Regions from separate parts of the Homo sapiens genome. Here regions 1, 2 and 3 are each linked to region 4. The links are contacts of gene promoters, found by promoter capture Hi-C in blood cells and fetal thymus (Javierre and others, 2016). All regions are on one chromosome and are shown on one strand. The core of a region is centred on a gene start or on the middle of the fragment in contact, and the rest is flanking DNA. Distances in the headings are between cores, read along the strand shown. Region 1 has its middle 36 kb from the start of PCED1B. Region 2 has its middle 52 kb from the start of PCED1B. Region 3 holds the start of ZNF641 (zinc finger protein 641). Region 4 holds the start of SLC48A1 (solute carrier family 48 member 1).

Evidence for each region. Contacts are between HindIII fragments. The CHiCAGO score rates a contact against its expected background, and 5 or more counts as called.
Region 1: a contact is called between a fragment that was not itself captured here and the fragment with the promoter of SLC48A1 in region 4, in 1 of 17 cell types (total B cells). The highest score is 5.2, in total B cells.
Region 2: a fragment that was not itself captured here is called in contact with the fragment with the promoter of SLC48A1 in region 4 in 1 of 17 cell types (naive B cells); the score reaches 5.0 in naive B cells.
Region 3: the fragment with the promoter of ZNF641 here is called in contact with the fragment with the promoter of SLC48A1 in region 4 in 5 of 17 cell types (neutrophils, M0 macrophages, fetal thymus and 2 more); the score reaches 7.7 in neutrophils.

The regions. Positions count from the first base shown.
Region 1 is chr12:47,040,742-47,046,978 of GRCh38, forward strand. No RefSeq gene overlaps it. Among named protein-coding and RNA genes, the nearest start is that of PCED1B, 36 kb to the right of the region's middle. The HindIII fragment of the contact is 2,502 bases long and covers 1,784-4,285 here.
Region 2 is chr12:47,024,515-47,030,290 of GRCh38, forward strand. No RefSeq gene overlaps it. Among named protein-coding and RNA genes, the nearest start is that of PCED1B, 52 kb to the right of the region's middle. The HindIII fragment of the contact is 3,725 bases long and covers 88-3,812 here.
Region 3 is chr12:48,347,455-48,353,702 of GRCh38, forward strand. It overlaps ZNF641 (zinc finger protein 641), which reads right to left and starts at 3,465. Exons shown (of 6, transcript NM_001172681.2): 1 at 3,332-3,465; 2 at 453-661. The coding sequence starts at 636. RefSeq lists enhancers at 2,976-3,045, 3,484-4,220 and silencers at 3,186-3,615, 3,896-3,975. The HindIII fragment of the contact is 6,093 bases long and covers 831-6,248 here.
Region 4 is chr12:47,771,988-47,777,856 of GRCh38, forward strand. It overlaps SLC48A1 (solute carrier family 48 member 1), which reads left to right and starts at 1,251. Exons shown (of 3, transcript NM_017842.3): 1 at 1,251-1,453. The coding sequence starts at 1,318. RefSeq lists a silencer at 1,117-1,726 and enhancers at 1,472-1,978, 1,979-2,483. The HindIII fragment of the contact is 7,379 bases long and covers 1-5,656 here.

The DNA of each region.
Region 1 (6,237 bases), core at 1,785-4,284, 730 kb before region 4:
AACCACACATCTATAACTAGTACAACTCCAACTATAACTTTGTAGGACCTATTGAAGTGGTTGACTTATGCTTATTAAAATATTAAATAAGAATGAAACCAGTCATTCTTTGGAAGATTCCAAATAATGTTGTAGAAACTTCTATTCATTTATATATTCCAAGATATCTTCCATAAAGTGGATAAGATTTTTAAAAAGATGTAAAAGGACCAATTTTGAGTGTGGCCCAACCAGACTCAATTCTGGAAATCAATTCTTACACATTATCAATTATTCATATTAATATATCATTATATATATATAACTTTTTACACTGATTTATTTATTTTATTTGACACTATAAAATAAAGCAACCTAAAATAAAGTCAGTATTGCCTTGGAGAAATATTCTGTTAATCTTTCCATTCTGAAAATGAATGCCATAGGAGAATGACGAACAACAGAAAATTTATTAGCGTAATGAAAGAAAATTTAAAGTACTCCCCTAAATGCATAGAAGTAGACTATGCCCTGAAACTGTTTTTGAGTAGAAACTTTCTGAATATTGAGTTACAATGGTGCATTTGATCTAACAAAAAAGATGAAAATATAAAGAATTAATTGTCTCAATTCCAGAGAATATTGTATATAGTTGTGTATATAGTTGTGAAAAAACTGGACAGCACTTTTTTCATATTAGTTCACATTCACAAAGTTCATAACAATACAATATGACTCATAGTTGTTCATTACTAGGACCTTGAACTACAAAGAAACCCGCAGAATATTCCTTGGCAGCTCTGGCTTCATGGATATATGACTTTGCATTCATACACGAATCTTAAGCTTGGAAAATCAGCTGAGCGCAGTGGCTCACACCTGTAATTCTAGTACTTTGAGAGGCAGAGGTGGGCAAATCACCTGAGGTCCGGAGTTCAAGACCAGCCTGGCCAACATGGTGAAACCCCATCTCTACAAAAAATACAAAAATTAGCCAGGCATGATGGTGTGCGCCTATAATCATAGCTATTCAGGAGGCTGAGGTGGGAGAATCACTTGAACCTGGGAGGTGGAAGTTGCAGTGAGCCAAGATTGTGCCACTGCACTCCAGCCTGAGCAACAGAGCAAGACCCTGTCAAGAAAGAAAGAGAGAGAGAGAGAGAGAGAAAGAGAAAGAAAGAAAGAAAGAGAAAGAAAGAAAGAAAGAAAGAAAGAAAGAAAGAAAGAAAGAAAGAAAAGAAAGAAAGAAAGAAAGAAAGAAAGAAAAAAAGAAAGAAAAGAGACCCTGCAGTACGAAAACTGAACTGTGATTTATCCATATGTTATGCCCCTCTATTTCATAAATATTAAGAAAAATCATTTTGACTGTGATTAAATGTATATATACTGAGCCAAATATTTTTCTTTCAACTATTTTCCCTTCCTTCCCCCTTCTTCCTTGGATTTTTTTTCTCCTTAACATTGACTATGGTCTATATATATGTGTGTGTAGGTCTAGTACTGAGCTCTCTATGATGTTCCATTTACCTTTCCTTGTGCCATATACAATGTCTTAATTACTATAGCTTTATAATAAAGTTTGATATTTGATCATACAAGTTCCCATCTTGTTCTTTAGAACTGTCTTGGTTATTTTTGGTCCTTTGCTAGTCTATATAAATTTTAAAATCAACTTGTGATGTTGGGATTCTAGGAGTGTTAATCAATTCATGAAAATTAATGTCAATACAATATTAAATCTGACTATCCATGAATATGGTATATCTCTTCATTTGTTTAGGTTTTATTTAATGTCGTTTAATAAAGCTTTATAATTTTTACCAGATATGGGCTTACACATCTCCCACTAGATTTTTTTTCTCTTGGATAAAATATTTATTTTTATTGTAATTTAAAATAGTATAAATATTTTTAAAGTTTTTTACTTTTTAAATATTTGTTTACAGTTCATTTTTGAGGTAAATATACATACAGTAAAATAGACAAATACAAGTGCACAATTTGTTGAATTTTGACAAATGCAAACAAACGTAGAGGTAAGAATGTTTTACATAGTATAATCTTTTTAATAACATTTTTAGCTGATCATTGCTGGTGTATAAAAATGCAATTTCCTTTTTATTTTGTAGACAATTATACTACCCATAAATAATGACCAGTTTGTTTTGTTTCATTCTAACTCCTAATTCCTTTTATTTTACTTTTTTATTCACATTACTATACCATCTAGGCCATTTAGTAGAGTGTTAAACAAATGTAGTAATAATAAACATCTTTACCTATTTTATATTAAACTTAAAATTTTTCACCATTAAGTATAATATTGCTGTAGTTTTTTGATAATATTTACACGTTTAAGAAATTTTTCTTCCATTATTAGTTTGCTTAAGATTTTCTAAACCATAAACGGATATTAAATTTTATCTAATACAATGTGTCTACTTAGCTCATTATATAGCTTTCATTCTTTAATATGTTAATGGTGCAGCGGGGTGCGGTGGCTCACGCCTGTAACCCCAGCACTTTGGGAGGCTGAGGTGAGTGGATCACAAGGTCAGGAATTCAAGACCAGCCTGGCCAACATGGTGAAACTCAATCTCTACTAAAAATACAAAAATTAGCTGGGCGCAGTGGCAGGTGCCTGTAATCCCAGCTACTTGGGAGGCTGAGACAGGTGAATCACTTGAACCCAGGAGGCAGAGTTTGCTGTGAGCCCAGATCGTGCCACTGCACTCTAGTCTGGGAGACAGAGTGGGACTCCATCTGAAAAAAAAAAAAAAAAAAAGAAATATGTTAATGGGGCATGAGTTGGTTAGCCAACTGCACAGTTTGAGGTGGCATAGTCCACGCAAGACTGTCCTCACTTTTGACAGCAATTGCAAGTTTAGGGGCTTCCTAAAACCACCTTCAGGTTACCTAATCCACAAGGACTCCTGGAACTCACTAAAAGTTGTTATAATCCAGGTTAGAGTGTATTACAGGAAGGATACAGATTAAAGTCAGTCAAGGAGGGGCACCTAGAGCAGAGTCCAGGAAAAGTATCAAACATGTAGCTTCTGTTTTTCTTTCTCCATGGAGTCCTGGACACATTACTTTTCAAATATCAAAGTATAACAATGTGCACAAAATATTGCTAATGAGGAAAGCTCAGCAGAGCCAGGTGTTCAGACTTTTTATTGAGGCTCCATGATGTAGACATGGGCGATTGCCAATGTGGCTGATTTCAATCTTCAGCCTCCACCCTCTCCAGACATGACCCAAATCCCCCACGCTAAATCACATTTCTGGTCTTTCTGGTGTAGCCATTCTCCATCTTAAATCATATTTTTAGACAATCTGGTGACCCAAGGCTCACAGCCAAACAAAGACACTCCTATCAACCATGATATTCCATCAATTTACCCATCACCTCTCAGAAGCCAAGGACAAAGACCAGACTTCTTTTCGGACAAAGTTGAATTCTTTACTATGTGTGGGGTGAATAACATAATTTAACTTTCTAATATTAAATCAACTTTGTATTCCTGAAATGAATTCAACTTGATAATAAAATATTTACTTTTTTATACATTATATAATTTGGCTTTATAAGATTTTGTTTAGGATTTTTATATCTATGTTCATGAATAAGACTGGTCTGTAAGTTTTCTACTTTATGCTGTCCTTGCCTAGTTTTGCTATCAAGATTATGCTAACCTTATAAAATAAGTTTGGGGATGTTTCCTCCTCTTCTATAACCTAAAAGAGTTTTTGTAAAATTGAAATTATTATTTATTAAATATTTGGTTGAACTTGTCCTTTAGTAATTGGTAGTACATATTAAGGAAATACGCACATCAATGGACATGTTCAGGAAAAATGAGTGTTGAATTTTATCTCTTTTTTTTTTTACATATTTTAAGATTACCTTATAATTTTTTTCTTTACAATGTTAATGTCATATATTCATAGGTCTTAAATGTTGAACCATTTACTATCTTTTTGTTTTGTGTGTTGCTGGACTTGATTTGCAAATATTTTTATGAAATAATATTTATAAGTATAATTGACCTACTATTTTTATCTTGCATTACTCTTATTTTATTATCAAAATTATACTAAATGTATAAATAAACTAAATAATTTTTTTCTTTTTTTCTATAGTAGTTCGTATAAAATAAAGATTGTTTCTTAAAGATTTAGTACTGCCATAACCAATTACTACAAACTAGGTGGCTTAAAATGCTAGTAATTTATTCTCTCACACATCTGGAGGCCAGACTTCCAAAATCAAGGTGTCAGCAGGGTTAGGTTAGTTCCTTCTGGAAGCTTTAAGGGAAAAACATTCCATGCTTCTCTACTAGTTTCTAGTGTTGCTGGCATGTCTTGGAGTTTTTTGGCTTGTGGTAGCGTAGTTCCAATATCTGCCTCCAGTTTCCCATCACCTTCTTTCCTGTGTGTCCCTCTATGTCATCTCTTCTTACAAGGACAACAGTTATTGGATTTAAAATTCAACCTAAATCCAGGATGATTTCATCTTAAGATCCTTAACAAATTATATCTACAAAGACCTTACTGGCAAAAACATGACATTTTAAAGTTTGGGTGCACGTTACTTTGTATGGGATACTATTCAATCCCTTCCAATTGCCTGAAATACAAAAATATGCCAGGTATAATTCCAAAATATAAAAGAAAAACAGTCTTGCTAAGTGAGACTTTTGAATTACTTGATACTTTGTCTTGGATCTGAGGAAATGAAGTATATTTGAGGTATAATTGCTTTAAAAAGTACTCCAGTGGATAAAAGTAGGTGAGTAGAGAAGAAAGAGTGTTAACAGCCATTAGTGGTGGCTTCTGGAAAGGACAATTACTGATCAGACCATCTGTTAATTCTACCAGACAGTTTAATGTGCAAATGTAAATAAAACTAATAACATCTCCATGGAAAATTAAAAAATGCTTAACCAACATTGATTTGATATTGAGAGTCTTCGTCTGTTTTGTGTTGCTGTAACAGAATATGCAAGACTAGGTAATTTGTACAGGACAGAAATTTATTTCTCACAGTTCTGGAGGCTGGAAAGTCTAAGATTAAGGTACCAATAGGTTTGGTGTCTGAGGAGGGTCCAGTCTCCACTGCCAAGATGATGCCTTGAATGCTGCATCCTCCAGAGGGGAGAAACTCTCTTCTTTACATGACAGGAGAGCAGAAGAGAGAGAACCCACTCTTGAAAGTTATTTTGGTAGTTGCATCAATCATTCATAAAGGTAGAGTCCTCACAGCCTAAACATCTCTCATTAAGCCCCACCTCTCAACACGATTGCATTGGGGATTAAGATTCCAGTACATTAATTTGGAGGGGCCAAAACATTCAAACTAAAATATTGAATTTCTGCTAGAACTAATAACTGTGTTAGATGAATAATAGAAAGTAGATCAGTACCAATAAGCATTTCACTCAAGTCAGCCCCAACCCCTTTCAGCTGCAAATAATTTAGAGTGATTTATTGGCATGATTTAACTTTAATCAGAAATTGAGAAGTGAGTAGCTATATTGTAATATTTAATAATATATTTAAAGATATAATTATACCAACCTCCTAGATTATTGTCTCTTGTTACTATGTTTCTCTGGAAGCATTTTTCTTGGATTTCGTAAAAGGTTCTCTAGAAGAGGAAGTAGTCTAGAGAACAAACTGAAAACAATTTGCAATTGTTTAAAAGCAACATTTCACAAATTCTAGTTATAAGAACTTCCAACAAAAATCACTGTCAGAAAAAAATATATGGGCATCCTCTGGGGCCTCTATGGGATGGAGATTGTTGGAATCCTTTTCATCTCTAAGATTCTGTGAAGTCTCTGAGTTATGAAAGAGTGAGCTGAGAATCTCAGCATTCCCAGGTGAAGGGAACTAAGGCAGGTGATTTAGCAATGTGGAGGGTCATGCTTCAAGATCTTGTTGGAAACCCATATCCCAAGGAAAAAGGTGGCCCAGGTAACAATAACACAGAACAAAATAATAGAAAGATACCAGTTTTGCAGGCAGGTAGATCAGTCTTTGAATCCTAGCTCCTCCATCTCTGTGTCTCTGTTCTGTCATATACCTTAATTAAAATTCAAATGAGATAACATATGCAAAGTACCTGAACATTAGGTGCACAAAAAATGGTAGGTGGTATTAACTGTGACTAGGAAAGAGAAACAAAATTGCTGCATAAATGGCAAAAATTTTGGTCATCAATTAAAACTACTTACAGAGAATGTATATACTTTT
Region 2 (5,776 bases), core at 700-3,199, 750 kb before region 4:
ATGTGCTGGTAAACTAGTTTGTTAGGAGGAAAAGCCCTGATTTGTACTGTATTTATGGTATAACTACTCCCACTATGTCTCATTTTAAGCTTCCAGCTTGAGGTCACTGAAAAAGGAGTTGGAAAGAAATGCTCGCAATCAGCTCTTCTGAGCTGCTACTACAGCCAGCTCCAGCATGCCACTGCCCACGCATTGGCCAAAGCTCTGTTACAGTGTATGATGGTCAGAGCTAATGTTAGAAAGTAATTTATTATCCTTACTATTATTCTCTTTGTAGCATTGAGACAAAGATACAAGAAAAATATAATATATCCAATAATTATATGATATATATGCTAAGTACATATTATGTACACATAAAATAATTATAAAATACAATAATTATATCATATAATTAGGATATGGGGAAATTGACAAGATAAATGTAGATCTTTGCCCTCTGATTCATTTAGATCTAGTAAAAAAAACTAAAGAAAATGTGTCAGAGTAGCCACCAAGGAGACATAAAATAGTATGAATTTTTACCAACAAAATAACTTATAATTTTGATATAATTATAATTCTACATTATGGCTTTATTATAATTTATAAGAATATATAATTTTACCAACAAATTAATTAATATGAATTTTTACCAACTAGCTCTTCTATTGCCTAACTTTTATCAGTTATCTCTAATGGGTAAGAAAGAAAACCAAGATATCCTTCACTGGTTATTCATTTTTTGAAAAAGCTGTATTCTGTTGCAGTTAAAGAAGATGAAGCATTTGACTTCCATTTGGGACAGTGACCTTTATAAAATACCGCCCTCCCTCCCCCAAACCCTCAGCCCCCAAACTCATTTTCTCTAGCTGTTGAATGCCAAAAATCCATTTAGTTTTCAAACATTGCCTTTTTTCTATTAGTTTTAGGTAGCTGGTCCAAGAAATGATTGAGATTCTTCCCAGTTTAAACTTAAGATGCTTGAATGTACTGCCAGTACCAAATGAAGGTCTCTGCATTCTTCATCACCCTGTGCCCAGTCTCCGTCTTTTATCATCTTCTTTTAACAATCTTAGTAATCCCAAATAAAGTGAAATGGAACATATTAATAGTTACTCTTGGGGAATTTTTTTTGGACTGGAGTTGATATATAACTGTGGCTGGATTATCAACATGGACTATCCTGTCTGGAGAGACAACTCAATATTAATAATGCAGATTCGAGCATTCAATGATCCTATACTTTGTCAAGCCAGAAAACTGTGAACCAACCTAGATCTGTCCTCTCACTCAACCTCCAAGTCTAATCAGTCAATAGAAAAAATAACAAATATATACTGAGCACTTACTGTATGGCAAGCAGAGAGTTAAATGCTCTTCACCTATTATTTTATATAATCTCCACAATCATCCACTGTGTTGTGTTACTACACCCATTTTATAGATGACAAAACTGAGATACAAATAAGCTAAGCAACTCATCCAAAGTCATGGCACTGCGGTAGAGCCTGCAAAATTTGAACCCCAGCAGCCTATCTTCAGGGCATACCATGTTTACTATGTTAGCAGAATTATAATAGATTCTCCTGCTTAATTACTTCTCAAATAAGTTTGTCCCTTCCTCAATATACCTACTGACTTAACAGTAGTTAGAATCATCGTGAGACCTTGCCTGGATTTACTGTGATAGTCTCCTAACTGAACTCCTTGTCTCTGGTCTTTTCCCCACTCTAATGCATCCTCTACCTAGATGACAGAGTGCTTTTGCCAAACTATAGACCTGATTAAGCTCCTCACTGTAGCCTTCAGGATAAAGCTGAAACGTCATCTCTTAATAACCCTGACTCTGTGCGTAGTGGACCCTGCCTTCCTTTGTCCCCATTTCCCTGCACATCTCGACAGGGCAGCCCTACTAAACAGCCTGAATTTTCCCAAACATATCATCTTCTCACAGCAACAGCTTCCTTCGGACATACCTTGCTTTCTGCCCAAAATGTGCTGACTCCGTTTTTTTCTTCTATGTGGCTAATTTCTAGCAGTCCTGCAAATCCCTAGTGAAGGAGCATCTCTCAGCCCTCTACTATTGATCACAGTATGCTGGCCATGGTCCTCATCATAGCTGTCCTCAAAGAGCTCTCAGTTCAGGAGGCAGACAAGTAAACCAATAATCCAAACAAGTGGGCAACAGCTGTTATCAAGCCACAGATCTTAATATTCTATAAAGCGTAATCTTATAGCATTCACAAAGAAAAACATCATTATTTAAATTGTTATGTTTTAGACATGAAAAACACTTTGACTAGTCAAAAAGTTTTAGGCAGGCCAGGCGCAGTGGCTCATGCCTGTAAACCCAGCACTTTGGGAGGCAGAGGCAGGTGGATCACCTGAGGTCAGGAGTTTGAGACCAGCCTAGCCAACATGGTGAAACCCCGCCTCTACTAAAACTACAGAAATTAGCCGGGCATGGTGTCACACACCTGTAGTTCCAGCTATTTGGGAGGCTGAGGCAGGAGAATCACTTGAACCCAGGAGGCAGAGGCAAAGATTACAGTGAACTGACACCATGCCGCTGCACTCCAGCGTGGGCAACAGAGTGAAACTCTGTCAAACAACAGCAACAACAACAAAGTCTTAGGCCTTGGCTGCTCTGTCTATGGAGTAGCCATCCTTTTGTTTCTTTACTTCTCTAATAAACTTGCTCTTACTTTACCTATGGACTCGCCCCAAATTCTTTCTTGCATGAGCTCCAAGAAGCCTCTCTTGGGGTCTGGATCAGGACCGCTTTCCAGTAACATCTTCCTGGCAAACCACAGAGGGACTATACGGAAGAGACCCAAACCCAAAGGAAAATTATCTGCTCAGCACCACTTGCCTGACTTTGCGTAAGTGGTAGAGTACATTTTATCCTGGGTAAAGGACGGAACAAGGCTAGAGACCCAACTTAGGACATTTAGAGTTCTTCCTAAGATTTAGGGGGTTAGGGACCTCCCTTGGTAAAGTCCCTGTTGGTTAAAAATGGATTTGGCACTACAGGATATTAACTGCTATTCCCTTTGGAAAAAGTTTTAGCTATGATGCGTGTTTCTAGATGTATCTGTGCTATTCTCTTCATTTGGAGTATGGTAAAATATTCTTACAGCAGACATAATTTTAAGGAAAATGTATTTCCCTCAGCACTTGTAACTTTTTGTTTATTTATTTATTGGATGTTCTTGCTTTAATTTCTTTAAAAAGCAAAAGGTACGAAAATAGCCATAAAAACGATATCAAAGGGCACTTTATTTTTTGAAATGAACTAAGTGCTACATGTTACTCTACTTCATGAGTTATTGAGATTTAATCCTGGACGTGAAGTAGGGTGTGGAGAGTGATTGACTGTAGTAGAAGAAGCAATACACTTCATGGGTTGGCAGTGCTGGAATAAGATTATCTACAATTAAATGAGAAGTAAGATAGTCCAAACTGGAAACAGTGTGTGAGGTTAATCTGCATTCCTAGGTTAGACTCTGACAGATTATGAGGCTCCCCCACTTAATGCCCCTCACACTTCTCTCTCTCAATACTCATTTTGATATTTAATCTTTTGTGCAGCCAATCAATTGATTAGTAATTTGCTTGTGTACATTAAAGGCCAGGAGAAAGAAGTTGCACTATACCAAAACCATGTCCCACTTTAAAAGGTACCTAGATATAGATTGTCCAAAACATTTTTACTTAAAGTATGCTCAGGAAGTGTTGAGTAAGAGACAATATAATTGACCAACGTATGGGCATTCTTTGGAAGCCAAGGAGAGAAGAAAGCAGACGGTAACAAACGGATAAGAACCATAAGCTTTCCCCTACTATAGAAAGTCAGAAATACAGGGAGGCTGAGGCAGGAGAATTGCTTGAACCCTAGAAGCGGAGTTTGCAGTGAGCCGAGATCTTGCCACTGGACTCCATCCTGGGTGACAGAGTGAGACTCCATCTCAAAAAAAAAAAAAAGAAAGAAAGAAAGTCAGAAATGCAAATATTTATGAAGTAATGTAGAAGTTGCAGTTTTCAGAAAATGTTTAGTCTTAAAACCTTTTGCAAGACTGCAACCTTGTACATGTTTTGGCTGGATATTAGCTACTGGTACTTGAAATCTAGTCTCATCTTCCTTTGTATGCCCTCTGTATTTTAAAGACTAGACATCTAAAAACCACATTTTTTAAAGTCACTTGGAGCAAAGGTTTTAAATGTGATTTGGGTTCTGCTAATAATACGCAGTTGGCCCTTCATATCCATGGGTTCTGAATCTGTGGATTCAGCCGATTGCAGACCTAAAATAGGAAAAATAAAATTTCTCCAAGTCCAAAAGGCAAAACTTGAAATTGCCACATGCCATGTACTAGACTAAATCCATGTCAAGAAAGTAATGTTTAGATATTGCATTAGGTATTATAAGTAATCTAGATATGACTTGAAGTATATGAGAGGATGTGTGTTGGTTATATGTAAATATTATGACATTTTATATGAAGGGCTTGAGCATTCATGGATACTGGCATCCATGAGGAGTCCTGGAACCAATTGCCATGAATAGCAAGGGACAATTGTGTGTTCGTATATATCTAGAAAGTAGAATTGTGAGGAAGTCCAGCTTTGTAGCTATGAACGCTGACAAGCAAGTTTGCCAAAACATAAGTGCCTGTGGTAGCTGGACTCCAGGTTCTCATGTCTAGTTTTCAGCTTCATGAGTGTGAGCAGCTGTGATGGCAATAGCAAGAGCGGCAATGGTGGTTAAACCTGAAACCCATAGTTCGATGGTAGTCCCATAACCTTTCAATGATTTTGTAAGTGTTTAATTGTCTACATTAAATTCCCTCCTAATTGAAAAATCTAAATAGATTTATATTTCATGCCCTGAATGCTAATATGACATCCAAACAGCAACTTGAAGAAGCCCAATTTATTGAAAAAAAAAACAACCTATAATTCAACATCTGTGACTAATCAAGATATGACTAACTCTGCCATACCTCCAGTATTCAAGGTCAGGAGACAGAGTCCAAAACTGGCATTAAGGGTTACTGCAGGTCTATTTATGCTTTTGATACTTCCATATACATCCTGTGGTTTGAAGTGTGTGAGGCAGAAACTGCATTGAATAGGGTATGGGAGAAATCTATGTTTATGGAAAGAATGACCTCTGAATTAATGAAGGACCATTATAGGAAACTGTGTTTTTTACGGTCATTGGTATTCTCCTCTTCTCCCTTCATCATCTTATCTGCTAGATCTTCCTTTTCCAGACCTCTAAATGTTGAAGTATTCCAGGGTCCATACCTTGGATATCTCTCTGCACCTATACTCACTCTTTCAGTAATTGAATCTGGTTATATGGCTGTAAATGACATCCTTATGATGACGACTATAAGTCCTCAAAGTCCGACACATTCTACTTCACCACATGGTTAGTTTCTTCATGGATGAAGTTGGGAAGAGGATTGTAGGAAAAATCATATTAACTTCAGAAATGGGGCAGATAGCTGGGCATGGTGGTTCACACCTGTAATCCCAATACTTTGGGAGTCTGAGGCAGGTGGATTTCTTGAGCTCAGGAGTTCAAGACCAGTCTGGGCAACATGGTGAAACCTGTCTCTACAAAACATATGAGAGTTAGCTGGGTGTGGTGGCACATGCCTGTAGTGTCAGCTGCTCAGGAAGCTGAGGTAGGAGGATCACCTGAGCCTGGGAGGTCAAGGCTGCGGTAAGCATGATTGTACCACTGCTGCACTCCAGCCTGGGTGACAGAGTGAGACCCTGTCTC
Region 3 (6,248 bases), core at 2,215-4,714, 580 kb after region 4:
TTGGTAAAACTCAAATGCATAAATGTAGATGAGAAGGCCATCACTCAAAATGTTCTGAAAGGGTATCAGATGGCTTTTAGTTAGACTAGCTATAGTTTGAATTTACAGTACTTGAATGTAATTTTCATCTAGTAAATTACATCTTACTGAGTGGGTTATCCAACAGTAATCAGGTTGCTGTCACTTCCTTCATCTCCCTCATTCAGTATCACTAATTATGCATTTGCATGTGGAGGGAGTAATTATGAAGAAACAAGAGAAGCCCAGTTGCATGGTTTGCTGAATTCAGGAGCCTATTCTGTACCTGTGACCAGGGCTGAGAAAGAATGGGCTGGTCCTGGTACAGGTTATGCTATTTAGTCCATGGCAATTTGGAGATTTTTAACCCTACTTTTGGAATAAATATTAGGAGACTATGCACTGTGCTTCCCACACACTCTGTGAGTTCTCACCCTTCTCCTGAAGGGACTGTGGCTCCTCTTCAAGGTCACAGCACAGGTGCTCCAGAGGTCCTGGTACTGTTCTCCATGGCCGCTCTTCCTGGCTTCCCCTTTCCACCTGGGGCTCTGCTCCATCCAGCTGTACATTCATTGATTCCCATCCTGTCCCCAGCGCTGCTGTCTGTTCTGAAAGCATTTCTGCTGCAGACCCAAATTGTGACCTGGAACAAATTCATATCAGCAATGCCCATGAAAATGGGAAAGGAGTGATATTTCTAAGGGAGTTATGAAGAACAGGCCCAGGGATAATAGACAAAACTAGATAGGAGGAGCTTGCTGGAAGATGAACTTTAAAAGCTTGATGTGTTCCGATCAACGGAGCCTGCACCAAGCTTCTTGGAGGAACTAAGAAATTGGCAGGTGCTACGTAGCAAAGCCACTAACTGGTATTTTGTGGACCTCATTATAGAAACAGAATATACCTGAAGGTTAGAAGAAGTTCATTTAAAAAAAAAGAACTGTCCTGGAAATTCAAAGGCTATCCATTTAATTTCAAGCACATGAAGTACAGGAAAGTAAGCAATTTGGAAACATACAGGAAGAAATACATATAGACCTGCACTCAACAAGATGGATGTAATCACACAGAAGATTTTCTGCCACAAATCACAGTCTCATCAGTTTAGAATGAAATGATTACTATAGGTAAAAGTCCCAACCAAGGGGCGTATTTGTATCATGAGGCTGGGCCAAAAGGTACCTCACTTGGGACAAGCCTCAATAAAAAGGCACTTGGTCTACCATCCAATGAAAACTGGTAGTAAATATGGTAGAAAAACTGATAACTTGGAAAGCAGGTGTTAAGACTCCAAAGTAATCCTAAGAGGTAAGAGAAATTGTTGGTCTGTGAGGAGCTGAAGTTTAATCAGGAAAAGTAAAAAGGAACAGAAAGAGTTTGAACCAGAGCTGGAAAAGGGGGGAAGAACTGCTGCTAACATGACCCAGAAGAACAAACCTGTTTATTTGTCAGGCACCAGTCAGATCTCATTAGAAAAATATATTCAGTTTGAAAGAAGCGTATGGTGAAGCCAGTGTGTGTTCATCAGAAAACATCAAAGTCAAGAAAGGGATTGGAAATACAGCCACTGGGAAAGTTAAAAATGTCGGATGTAGTTTTCTCTGTCTGGAGAAGAAGGCTGATGAATGATGCTACTAATGAATAAAAACAGAGGTCCCTTCTATCTCTATATAGGTCAAACAGAAAAAAATGGGTCTTGATTGCAAGAGAAGAGATTTAGGTTATTTTTTTTTAATTCTTAATAATCCTGCAGTGTACAATACCAGATAGTGGGCTCTTCTTTTTCTTTAGACAACTTAAGAGCAGGATGGGTCACACTTCTGTTGTGATAGGGCTTTATGGCAGAGAAATAATCTGAGACTCAGAATCTCTTTCTGTTTGGCAACATATTTTGGGTATTCTTATTCAATATCCAAACAGTCAGAGTCAGTGAAAGGCTTCCAAGAGCAGTCAGAAACTTGGTAACTATCCTGGCTTACTTACATCCTTTCAATAACACTTGCAAGAACCTTGAAGGCCAGGGTAGGTAATCACAGATGTCAAGTCGTCTATTTTCTTGCCTATTTGTCTTTGACAAAAGAGGTAGGTGGGAACCCTAAGCCCAATGCACAGGAAAAACAAATTCCCTTTTTATCTCAGAAGTCCAAAGATGGCTCAGGGCCTCATGGGAGCACCCTGGACTGATTCCCAGCCTAGGAGGTTTCCTTTTCAGAGACTTTTCATGAGAAAGGAAAATTCTTGCTAAAGCAATAAAGGGAAACTTCCATTTTAGCTCTCTTCTCTGAATTCCAGCTCTGTATCCACTTTTAACACACAGGGCACTAATTCTCCCTCTTCGTCCCATCTTTCTGGTTCTCTAGCTCCTGTGCAAATCCTCCCTGAAGGCTTTACCTCTAGCTACATATCTGGACACTTGTCTCAAACCCTTTCTCCATCTCCCCCAGGTAGCAGAGTCTCTTAATGGGAAGCCTCTTTGTGCAGAGCCCATTGGGCCAGCTGTAAGTTTTTCTATACCACTGACAGAAATCCGTGGAAGTGCTAGCAAAAATCTCAGCAAAGGATGGGATGGGTACCTGTCCTCAGCTTGCATTTCCTAAGATATTCACGCAGAGCCAGCACCTGGGCGGTTAAGGTGGTAGCCCTAACCTCGTTTCTCCTGGTTCCAGGATGATCCCATGCCCACTGCAGTGTGGGTTCTAGGGCTTTCATTTCCCCCTTTTCTTCACACATATGGGTAGCAAGGGACCTGCAAAAGGAAGTTTCTGCAGCCAGTGCTGATGAACAGAAAAGGGGCCATGTTATAAAAATGAGTAGCCCAAGGGCACACGGACGAGTTGGCTCCGTCCATCAGAGAACCCTGGCCCCTGCCACGGGTAGGGCATGGGCGGGACGGGAGCCTGCTCAGGGGTAAGGTTGCTTCTTCCCTTCTTCTTGTCACAGTGCCCCTGGAAAGGGTCAGATTTCAGAGAATCCGAGCAAGGCAGAACTGGAGCAGGGGAAGTGAGGTCAGAAAACAGGTTTCCCATGAGCTGGGGCATGAGCAAGTGAAGAGAAAGGGAGCCACGGGGTAACCTGTGCGCGAGTGACAGCGGCGGGAGCCCGCAGGGCCTGACAGTTGCGATGGGCACGGGGAGACAGGGCGAGAGGCGGGCACAGAATGTCAGCGGGGCAGACCCCCGGGAAAGGCAGCAACCCGGAAGACGCGCCGATCCTCCTCCCAGCCCCTATGGGTGACCGAGCCCCCACCAGCCGCCCCGGGAAGCCAGGCGTCCCTCCCTCCAGCCGCAGCTCCCTCCGGCCCGGCTCCACTCACCCCCGGTAGGCTTGGCCCGCGGCCCGGTGCCTCCCTCCCGGGCGCCGCCTGCCCCTCCCCTCCGCCCTCCGCTTGCGTCTGGGAGCCGGCGGCCGGCGGAGCCAGCGACAGGCGGAGACGGCGGCCCGGCAGGCGCGGGCGGGGCGGGGCGGGCACAGGAAATCCCCGCCCGCTTCCGGGGCTCTGCGGCGGCGGAGGTGCGGGGAGTGGGAGGGAGAGGAGTGGGAGGGAGAGGAGTGGGAGGGAGGGAGGGAGGGAGGGACGGGAGGGGGCGGGGCTGCGGCTCAGGCGCCCCCAAACGCGAACCCGGGACCTCCGCGCCCGCCGCTGTGGGGAGGGTGCGGCCCGAGACGCTTGGAGGGCGGCGGGCGCCGGAATCGCAGCCTGCTGTGGCCACTTGCCCGCACTCTTGCCTGACTGACCATTTTCCGCTCTGGCTACTGGGCCTCCCACGGAGTTCTGTCCTCAGGGTTCGTCAATTACCTGGAATTGCGTAACCGCCCGTTACAGGCCAGACCGAGGCCGAGAGCGATTTCTCCAGACAACAGTCTGGAATTCCTCAAGGAGCGTACCCTCTAGTTTTCACGATAGGATAAAGGGCTTGAGAGAGCACTGAGGAGGAGTCACTTATTCTGCCTGAGGGGAAGTCAGGTTGCTATCTGAAGTTGGCCTTGCGGCTGCTGTCCCATTTGCGGGAGCCGTAGCCGCAGGTGACACCTGAGCTCTCGAAATGTGGCTGGTCTGAATAGAGATGTGTTCCAAGATTTAGAAGATTTAATTTAAAAAGTGATATTTTGGGTATATTGGGTTAAATATATTAAAATTAATTTCACCTGGTTTTAACTTTTTAAATGTGGCTATAAATATGGCTTGCATTATATTTCTATTGGATAGTGCTACCTTGCAGCATTAAGATGGATTTGACTAGAAAAGATGAGAAGGGCCTACAAACAGTGAGTAAACCCATTGCTGTTAGAATCTGTTTATAACCTACAAGTCACATTCACATTCCTTATTTCATCATTACAACAATTTTCAAAAATTTTATTTAGTAGACTTAAAAAATAATTGACTCACTTAAGGTCATATGTGACAATCATTCGTTTAATGCATATTTATTTTCTACGTGTGCCAGACACTGTAACTAAATGCTGGGAGTTAAAGGATTCACAGTCTGGGGAAGCACATGTCAACAAATATTTGCAATAAAAACGTAGATTCTAAAACAGAGGAACGTACGCTGCACTTGAAGCAAAGAGAAGTGACCACGTATGGGACGGAGGTCAGAGAAGGCCCCCCACTCTGACAGAAATCGTGAGGCAGAGAAGAGTCAGGAGGGCTGTCTAATGAAAGAGGAAAATGCAGTAGACACGCAGTTGGGAAGAGTATAGAGCATATTCTAGGAGCAGATCATGGGATATGTCGGGGTAGTAGTAGAGCCAGAATTTTTATCCCGGGTCCTGGAACTAAGTCCAGGGGTTCTTTTCACTTATGCTACCACTGGTGGTAAATATAAGGTGCGTTAATTGGAGTAGGCTAGCAAAACCAGTATCTCGGGGCTTAACTCCATAAAGGCTTATGTTCATACAAGTCACAGTGTGGTAACAAGTTGGTTGGGGCCAGAGGGTGGGGTCTGTACTTCTTGAATTCATTGAAGGACCAGGCTTCTTGCATTTGGTGGTTCTCCCATGCCGAGGCCTTGGTAATGTAGTCAAATCTGTGGCCCTCAGATAAGGGAGGCTGGCCGTGGTTAACTTGTCAGAGATATTAGGGGCCAGTCCTGGAAGTGGTGTGTATCATTTTCACCCCATTCCCTTAGCCAGAACTCATGCGCATGGTCACATGGCCCTACCCAGAAGGGTGGCTGGGAAGTAAAGAATGTGTGCCTCATGGAAAAGGAAATGGGCGCTGCTGGACACAGCATTGCCTCGTCACACAGAGTTAAATTGAACATAACCAAGTACGTAAACCTGACTTTACCTGAAAAGAATGTTTGGAAAGAACTGATAGATATTATAATAGCCCAAACTCTCCTCGACTGTTTTGGGAAACAAATCAGTGTGAGATTGTTTCCAAAAAATAAAAAAAGCCAGGTGCAGTGTCTCATGCCTGTAATCCCAGCACTTTGGGAGGTAGAGGCGGGCGGATCACAAGGTCAGGAGTTCAAAACCAGCCTGGCCAACATAGTGAAACCCTGTCTCTAGCTGGGCATGGTGGTGCGTGCCTGTAGTCCCAGCTACTTGGGAGGCTGAGGCAGGAGAATCGCTTGAAACCAGGAGGTGGAAGTTGCAGTGAGCAGAGATCGTGCCACTAATACTCCAGCTTGGGCAACAGAATGAGACTTCGTCTCAAAAAAAAAAAAAAAAAAAGAGGCTGAATGGTATCATCTTCTTTATACCAGAACCTTTTCTTTTTAAAAATAACTTTTATAATTTTAAATTTGTGTAGTTACATAATAGGTGAATATCTTTATGGGGTACATGAGATATTTTGATGCAGGTATGCAATGCATGATAATCACATCATGGGAATCAGGTATCCATCCCCTCAAGCATTTATCCTTTGTGTTACAAACAATCCAATTATACCCTTTTAGTTACTTTAAAATGTACAGTTATTATTGACTATAATAACTATTAAATACTAGGTCTATTAAATACTAGGTTGTTCTATTAAATACTAGGTCTTATTCATGCATTCAAACTATTTTTTGTACCCATTAACCATCCTCACTGTCCCCATTCCCCCATTACCCTTCCCAGCCTCTGGTAACCATCCTTCTACTCTCTATCTCCATGGGTTGAATTGTTTTGATTTTTAGATCCTCCAAATAAGTGAGAACATGTGATGTTTGTCTTTCTGTGTCTGGCTTATTTCGCTTAACATAATGACTTCCAGTTCCATCCATGTTGTTGCA
Region 4 (5,869 bases), core at 1-2,500:
GGCAACCCTGATGTCCCCTTGATTTTAGCCCAGTGAGACCATTATTTGGATTCCTGACCTACAGAACTGTAAAATAATAATAAGTTTGTGTTATTTTAAATCAGTAAATTTGTGGTAATTTGTTACGGCAGCACACACACAAAAAAAACTAATGCAAGGGGTATTGGTTATGTTTTGTGCAGGTATATGATGGGCCTCCCCATGTGGATCCTTAGTGCTGTGGCAGAGCCCTTGTTATTGTGCTGGGATTTTCCCTCCAGCTCCCGGCCGGAAGCTGGGCTCACGTGGGAGCTCAGTGCCCTCCTGCTACAGATCTGTCTCTTCCTTACAATGGTATGATCCCGAGGGTCAGGGTGAGGGGTTTGGGAGGATAAGGCTTGTGCTGATAAAAGGAAAGGTGAGGTCCGTTGCAGTGGCTCAAGCCTGTAATTCCAGCGCTTTGGGAGGCCGAGGTGGGAAGACAGCTTGAGGCCAGGAGTTGGGGACCAGCCTGGGCAATATAGCGAGACCCTATCTCTACAAAAAATAAATAACAAAAAATACTAGCCAGGCGTGGTGGCACACACCTGTAGTCCTGGCTGCTTGGAAGGCTGAGGTGAGAGCATTGCTTGAATCCAGGTGTTGGAGGATGCGGAGCTATGATGGCGCCACTGTACTCCTGCCCGGGCAACAGAGTGAGACTCTGTTTAAAAAAAAAAAAGTAGGGATTTGTGGGGAGCTGTGCGTGAGGATAGAATGTATAGAATGTTTGCAGTCAGAAGGTGATGGTCGCAGGGGTTCCCAGACTTTAGTGTGTGGAGAAATCCTCTGCGATATGGTGGGAGGGAACCTGGTTGATAGAAGGACGGGCGGAAGGAATTCTATTCACAGCGTACTCTAATATTTCTTAAGTTTTACCTATTAATTTTTAACAAGAAATTTTAATTTTAATTTTAAACGAAAATACGCATCGTACTCAGAGGTAAAGATTTTTAATCCTCGCGGTTCGCTCGTATAAAGGCATATTTCCGGTCCCTTCCAAGGTCCAACAATCCGGACACGGCGGGTCTGGGGATGGGCCCAGGAATCCGCCTTTTTAGCAGCATTCCCCCAAACGACACGGCAGCTTCGCAAAGCGGCGGTGGCGTCTGCGGTTCCGGGCGCGGGCGGCCTCCGGCCGGGGAGGGCGCTGTGCGGGCGGCGCTGGGGGCGGGCCGGGGGCGGAGCGCGGGGCGCCGGCTGCTCTGGCGGCTCCCGCGGCTCCGGCTGGCGGCTTCGGGCCCTGCACCTGTGACTCTCGGCCGCGCTCGCCCTCGGCCCGCCCGGCGCCGCAGCCCCATGGCCCCGTCCAGGCTGCAGCTCGGCCTCCGCGCCGCCTACTCCGGCATCAGCTCCGTGGCCGGCTTCTCCATCTTCCTCGTCTGGACGGTGGTCTACCGACAGCCGGGGACCGCGGCCATGGGAGGGCTCGCAGGTACCCCGGGACGCTGGGCGGCGCGGGGCGGGTGCGCGGCTGCGGGGCGGGCGCCGTCAGCTGCTCCAGGACGCTCCCCGCGAGCGGCGCTTCCCCGCGGAGCGGGTGGAGTGTTTACTCGAAAACAGCGGTTGGCGGCGGCAGGCCCCACGCGGGCCCGGGCTCCTGGGCATTCCTGGGTGCCTCTGAGACCCGATGCCCGCCCGGGCGCCACCTGGGGGTGCCGACGGCCCGCCACTGCCGGCTGCACAGACCTGCCGCGCCGCCCGGGTTATCTGTCACGGCACACTGCCTGTCGCCCTCCGCCCAGTTGCCCCACGACAGTGTCCCCTCCGCGCGCCCGCGGCGCTGGTCGCCTCCTATCCCCAAACACACACACACACACACACGCACACACACACGGTTGTTCTGAGGGATCCCCTGCCCCCCAGGCGCCCCTTCCCTGGGTGCTGGGTGAGGGCAGAGAGGGAAGAAGTGGGAAAGGAAGAGGGCTAGGGGTGGCTGGGGAAGCCCATCTCCCTCCTTCCAGAGGGCTCCCCCGCAGAGCCCTCTGCTGAGACCCACAGGGAGGACGGCGTTAGGGATCTCATAGAAACTGGACATTCTCTTTCCACCCATGTTGGTGCCTTTTTGCTACCCGTCTGCTGTGGCTCCTCAGCCAAGCTCTGCCAAATCCTGCAGGCCAGCCGCCCTTTCTGTGCTTCTGGGAGGGAAGGGGAAGCATCGGTGCGCTGATGGGGGCTCTGGGCTGACCAGTGCTCCTTGTTGTGCACATTTGGGCTCGCAGTTTAACCTCTCTGCGCCATAGAATTGGTATGAAGATGAAAAATATTATCTCTACTTTCTAACATTTTAAAAAATGCTTTCTATGTGTCAGGCACTATGTTAAGCAACCTGCTTCCCTTATTTCATTTAATCCTTACATTAGTCTCATGAAGTAGGCCTTACGATTATGTCCATTTTACAGATAAGGAAACTGAGGCCTGAAGTTAAATAAATTGCTTACCCGGGATTACACAGCTACATGAAATAATATGTGTGGGAAAGGACTTTGGGAAGAAAATACGTATAATACTTTTACATATGATGATTATATTCCATTACTAAAATCCTCGGCCAAAAGAACCCTAAATGGAATAACTAAAAATAACTAATTTACTCACTGCCACAGGGAGTGCTGAGTGCCATCCCTGGGTAGAGTCGCAGCATGAGGTGGGGTTAATGCCTTAGAAGAGGGGCATACAGGGCCCCACCCTACACAATGCCAACAAAGCACTGGGTCACCAAGAAGGGGGGATGGGCACCCTGGCTAGGGTGTTCTCTGCCTGCCCAGCTGCCTCACCACCTGTGGGATCCTGAGGACAACTGGCCCATCTCTGCGCGTTATCTACAGAGCCCTAGTTCCTTTCCCCACTGCACCCCGCCACCCTCCATGTTTGTCAAGGTTCACTTCTCCCTGCCACTTTTTTGTTTCCTATTGGCCCTGTTGCTTTCCCCTCTGGAAGGCGGCGTCAGAGCCCTATGATTGCATTGCGAAGACCGAAGGCAAGAGAAGGATGAGCAGGGAGGGCCAGCCTGGGATCTCAGCTGGTTGTGTTGAGTCTGGCCTGGTACAAGTGGAGGTGAACCCTACCTGGCCGTTTGACCCTATCCTGGGCCACAGTTTCCTCATCTATTAGGAGTGGGAGGAGATGTCCCCAAAAGACATCTGACTTCCCTCCAGATCTGAAATCTTGCAGTGCTGCCCACTCCCTGAGTCTCCAGCTGCCTCCTAGAGGGCTGTGGAAAAGGCCTTCTTTCTTATACTCTAGGGAGTTGCCTGGGGTTTTCTTCCGACCCAACTCTGCCCTCTCTCCCTCCCCACAGGCTTCCCTTGGCCTATGAGGCAGGCCAGCTGTGGAGCTGCCTTCAGAGAGAGGCGCTAGGGCAGCAGCTCGCTAGGGCAGCAGCTCGCTAGGGCAGCAGCCAGCTGGAGTAGGGTCCTGGTATCTCCCTGATGGTCTGATCTTTGACAGTGGCTGTGGAAGAGCCAAAACTGCTTGGTAGTGGTGGTGGTGGATGGTGGCAGGGAGAGGGGTTGCCAAGCCTGGGCCTCCGACCTTCCCCACCATGAGTGAGTTCTCAGAGGGTCTGTGGCCAGTCAACCTTCTTCCTCTTTTGGGGGTAAAGTGTCAGCAGATTAACTAACGTGTGAGCACCCTACTTCTGACTCAGCGTTTTATAGCTCAGAATCTGCTGAGTCACCCAAGGGTAGCCCCAGCATGCTCCTTCTCCTGTGTTGGACCAGGCAAGGACTGATTGGATGTGCCAGTTTCTGGAGCAGAGTCATGGAGCCCCTGGGTCTGGTGGGCAGAGTGTTCACGGGTGGGGATACCCTCTCCCATCCTGATGGGTACCTTCGAAGAAGTGGCTTTGGAGAAAGGCAGTGGCAGAAGCAAGACTGGCTTTCCTGGGGAGGCGGGCAGGTGTGGGTTGGATCTACCTGGTCTGGCTTTGCTGTGGGAGTCCTGGGGGAAAACACAAACTCTTGCTCTGGGTTTAGTAGACCAAGGAAAGAGAAAAAGAAAAGTTGCTCCTGAAGTCTAAACAGCTCTATGTTTTTCCCAGGTGAGCTGTGAGCAAGAGCCCTGGGGCTCCAGGACTGTCTTCCTCCTAGGAAGGAATAGAGGGGCCTGACCTAGGCCCAGTGTCCTTCTTGTCTGCATTTACCCTGTGGGATCCCCCGGGTGTCTCCTGTCTCCTCACCTCCAGCCCAGCCACTGGGGATGCTTTCACCGCCCTACCCTATGCCTTCCTTACCCTTAGCTTATCGGCTGTGAGCCAATAAGCTCACATGGCTAAGCAGGGGCTCTGCTCCTTGAAACAGGTAGGATGGAGCAACGGTGTGGTCTGGTGTGGGCTTGCAGCCAGGTGGGATTGGGGACCTGTCCATTCCACCCCGAGTTTTATAAACCAGGCTTCCTAGAGTCCCCAAGTGTGCCAGGGAAGGGTATTAGGGAGATACATTGCCTCCTGCCTGATGTGTGGGAGGGGACCAGTGAGGGGCTCCATCTCCTTCAGTGACCCCCTTGGGTAGGGCTGGTGGAGAGCTCCCTTCCCAGGAGGGTGGTGGGAGCCAGGGCGTGGGCAGCAGGCCTGCCTCCACACTTGATGTGTGTTTATCTGGAGGGGAGGCCTCTGTGCAGGGCCTGGAGCAAGGTTGAGGGAAGGTGAGAGGTGGGTAAACCATGCCTGTTGTTAACAAAGAACAGGGCCCAAAACGCCCCCAAATGGCTGTCTTCCTCTCCCTCCTGCCCTCAGCCCTCTTTGGTATGTGCATGTACATGGGGGTGGGAGTTTTGGGGAACCACTGGATCGTGGCCAGTGGACTAAGAGATGGCATCTTCACAGGCCCCTATTTCAGCATTTCCTAACCCAGAAACTGCTGAGTCACAGAGGAATTGTTCTGACCTTATTTTTCTCCCAAGCTGGCTTCTAGAATCTTTGAGTGGGAAAGGATCTTAGAGCTCAACTTCCCCAACCCCTCTGTGGCACGAGGAGACAGAGGGCGAGGGGACCTGTTCCAGACAGGTGCCCATCAGACTGCTCCTTGAGTGTGCTCAGTGACAACACCCCTTGTTCCCAGGGCCCTTTATAAACCAAACAGCTCCCTCAAATGAAAACATGGGACACATGTGAGGAGTGGGAGGGACTTCTGTGAAAGGTGGCTGGTATAAAAATCCAGATCTTGTAGGAGGTAAGAGGAAGCTGCAGGATGATTGTCCTGTCCACCTCTGGCCCACTCCAGCATCCAGACTAGGTGGGGAGGAACAGATGCTTGTCCTGGCCCACCCTGATCTCAGTAGGAGGGGGACCCACATTCCAGGCCCCCACCCCCTGAGGAAGAGTGGAGGTGGGCAGGGGCAAAGCTGGGAGAGTGTTCAGGGGGTCAAACGGTGGCAGGGGCTGAGGGAAGCTGTAGGCTTGGTAGGCCTTCACCCTCACTAGGGTAGAACCCTGGGCCCAGTTACCTAAACTGGCAGGACCCCTGGGCCCACCCATTTTTAGATGTGGAAACACCAAGGCTTTGGGACACAGCAGTGCCAGGCTCCTGGTTTCTTGGCTTGGAGTCTCATGGGTTTTTGTTCCTCACTGGACTGTCTGGGGACAGCCAAACTGGGACAGCCTCTGAGCTGGTAACCAGAGCATAGCTCCACAGTGACAAGCTTCCTCCTGCCTTTTTCCCCCTTAAACAAATTATGAAATATTTTAGGCACACAAAAAAGGATAGATGATTTAACAAACACCCTTATAACCCAGCCTGAGAAAACAGCGTAGATAAAATAGCATAGATTTCCCACCCAGCCTAAGAAACAAAATAGCATAGATTCCCATAGATTCAAAGCACTTCCCCACCCCCACCGCCCCATCAACTTC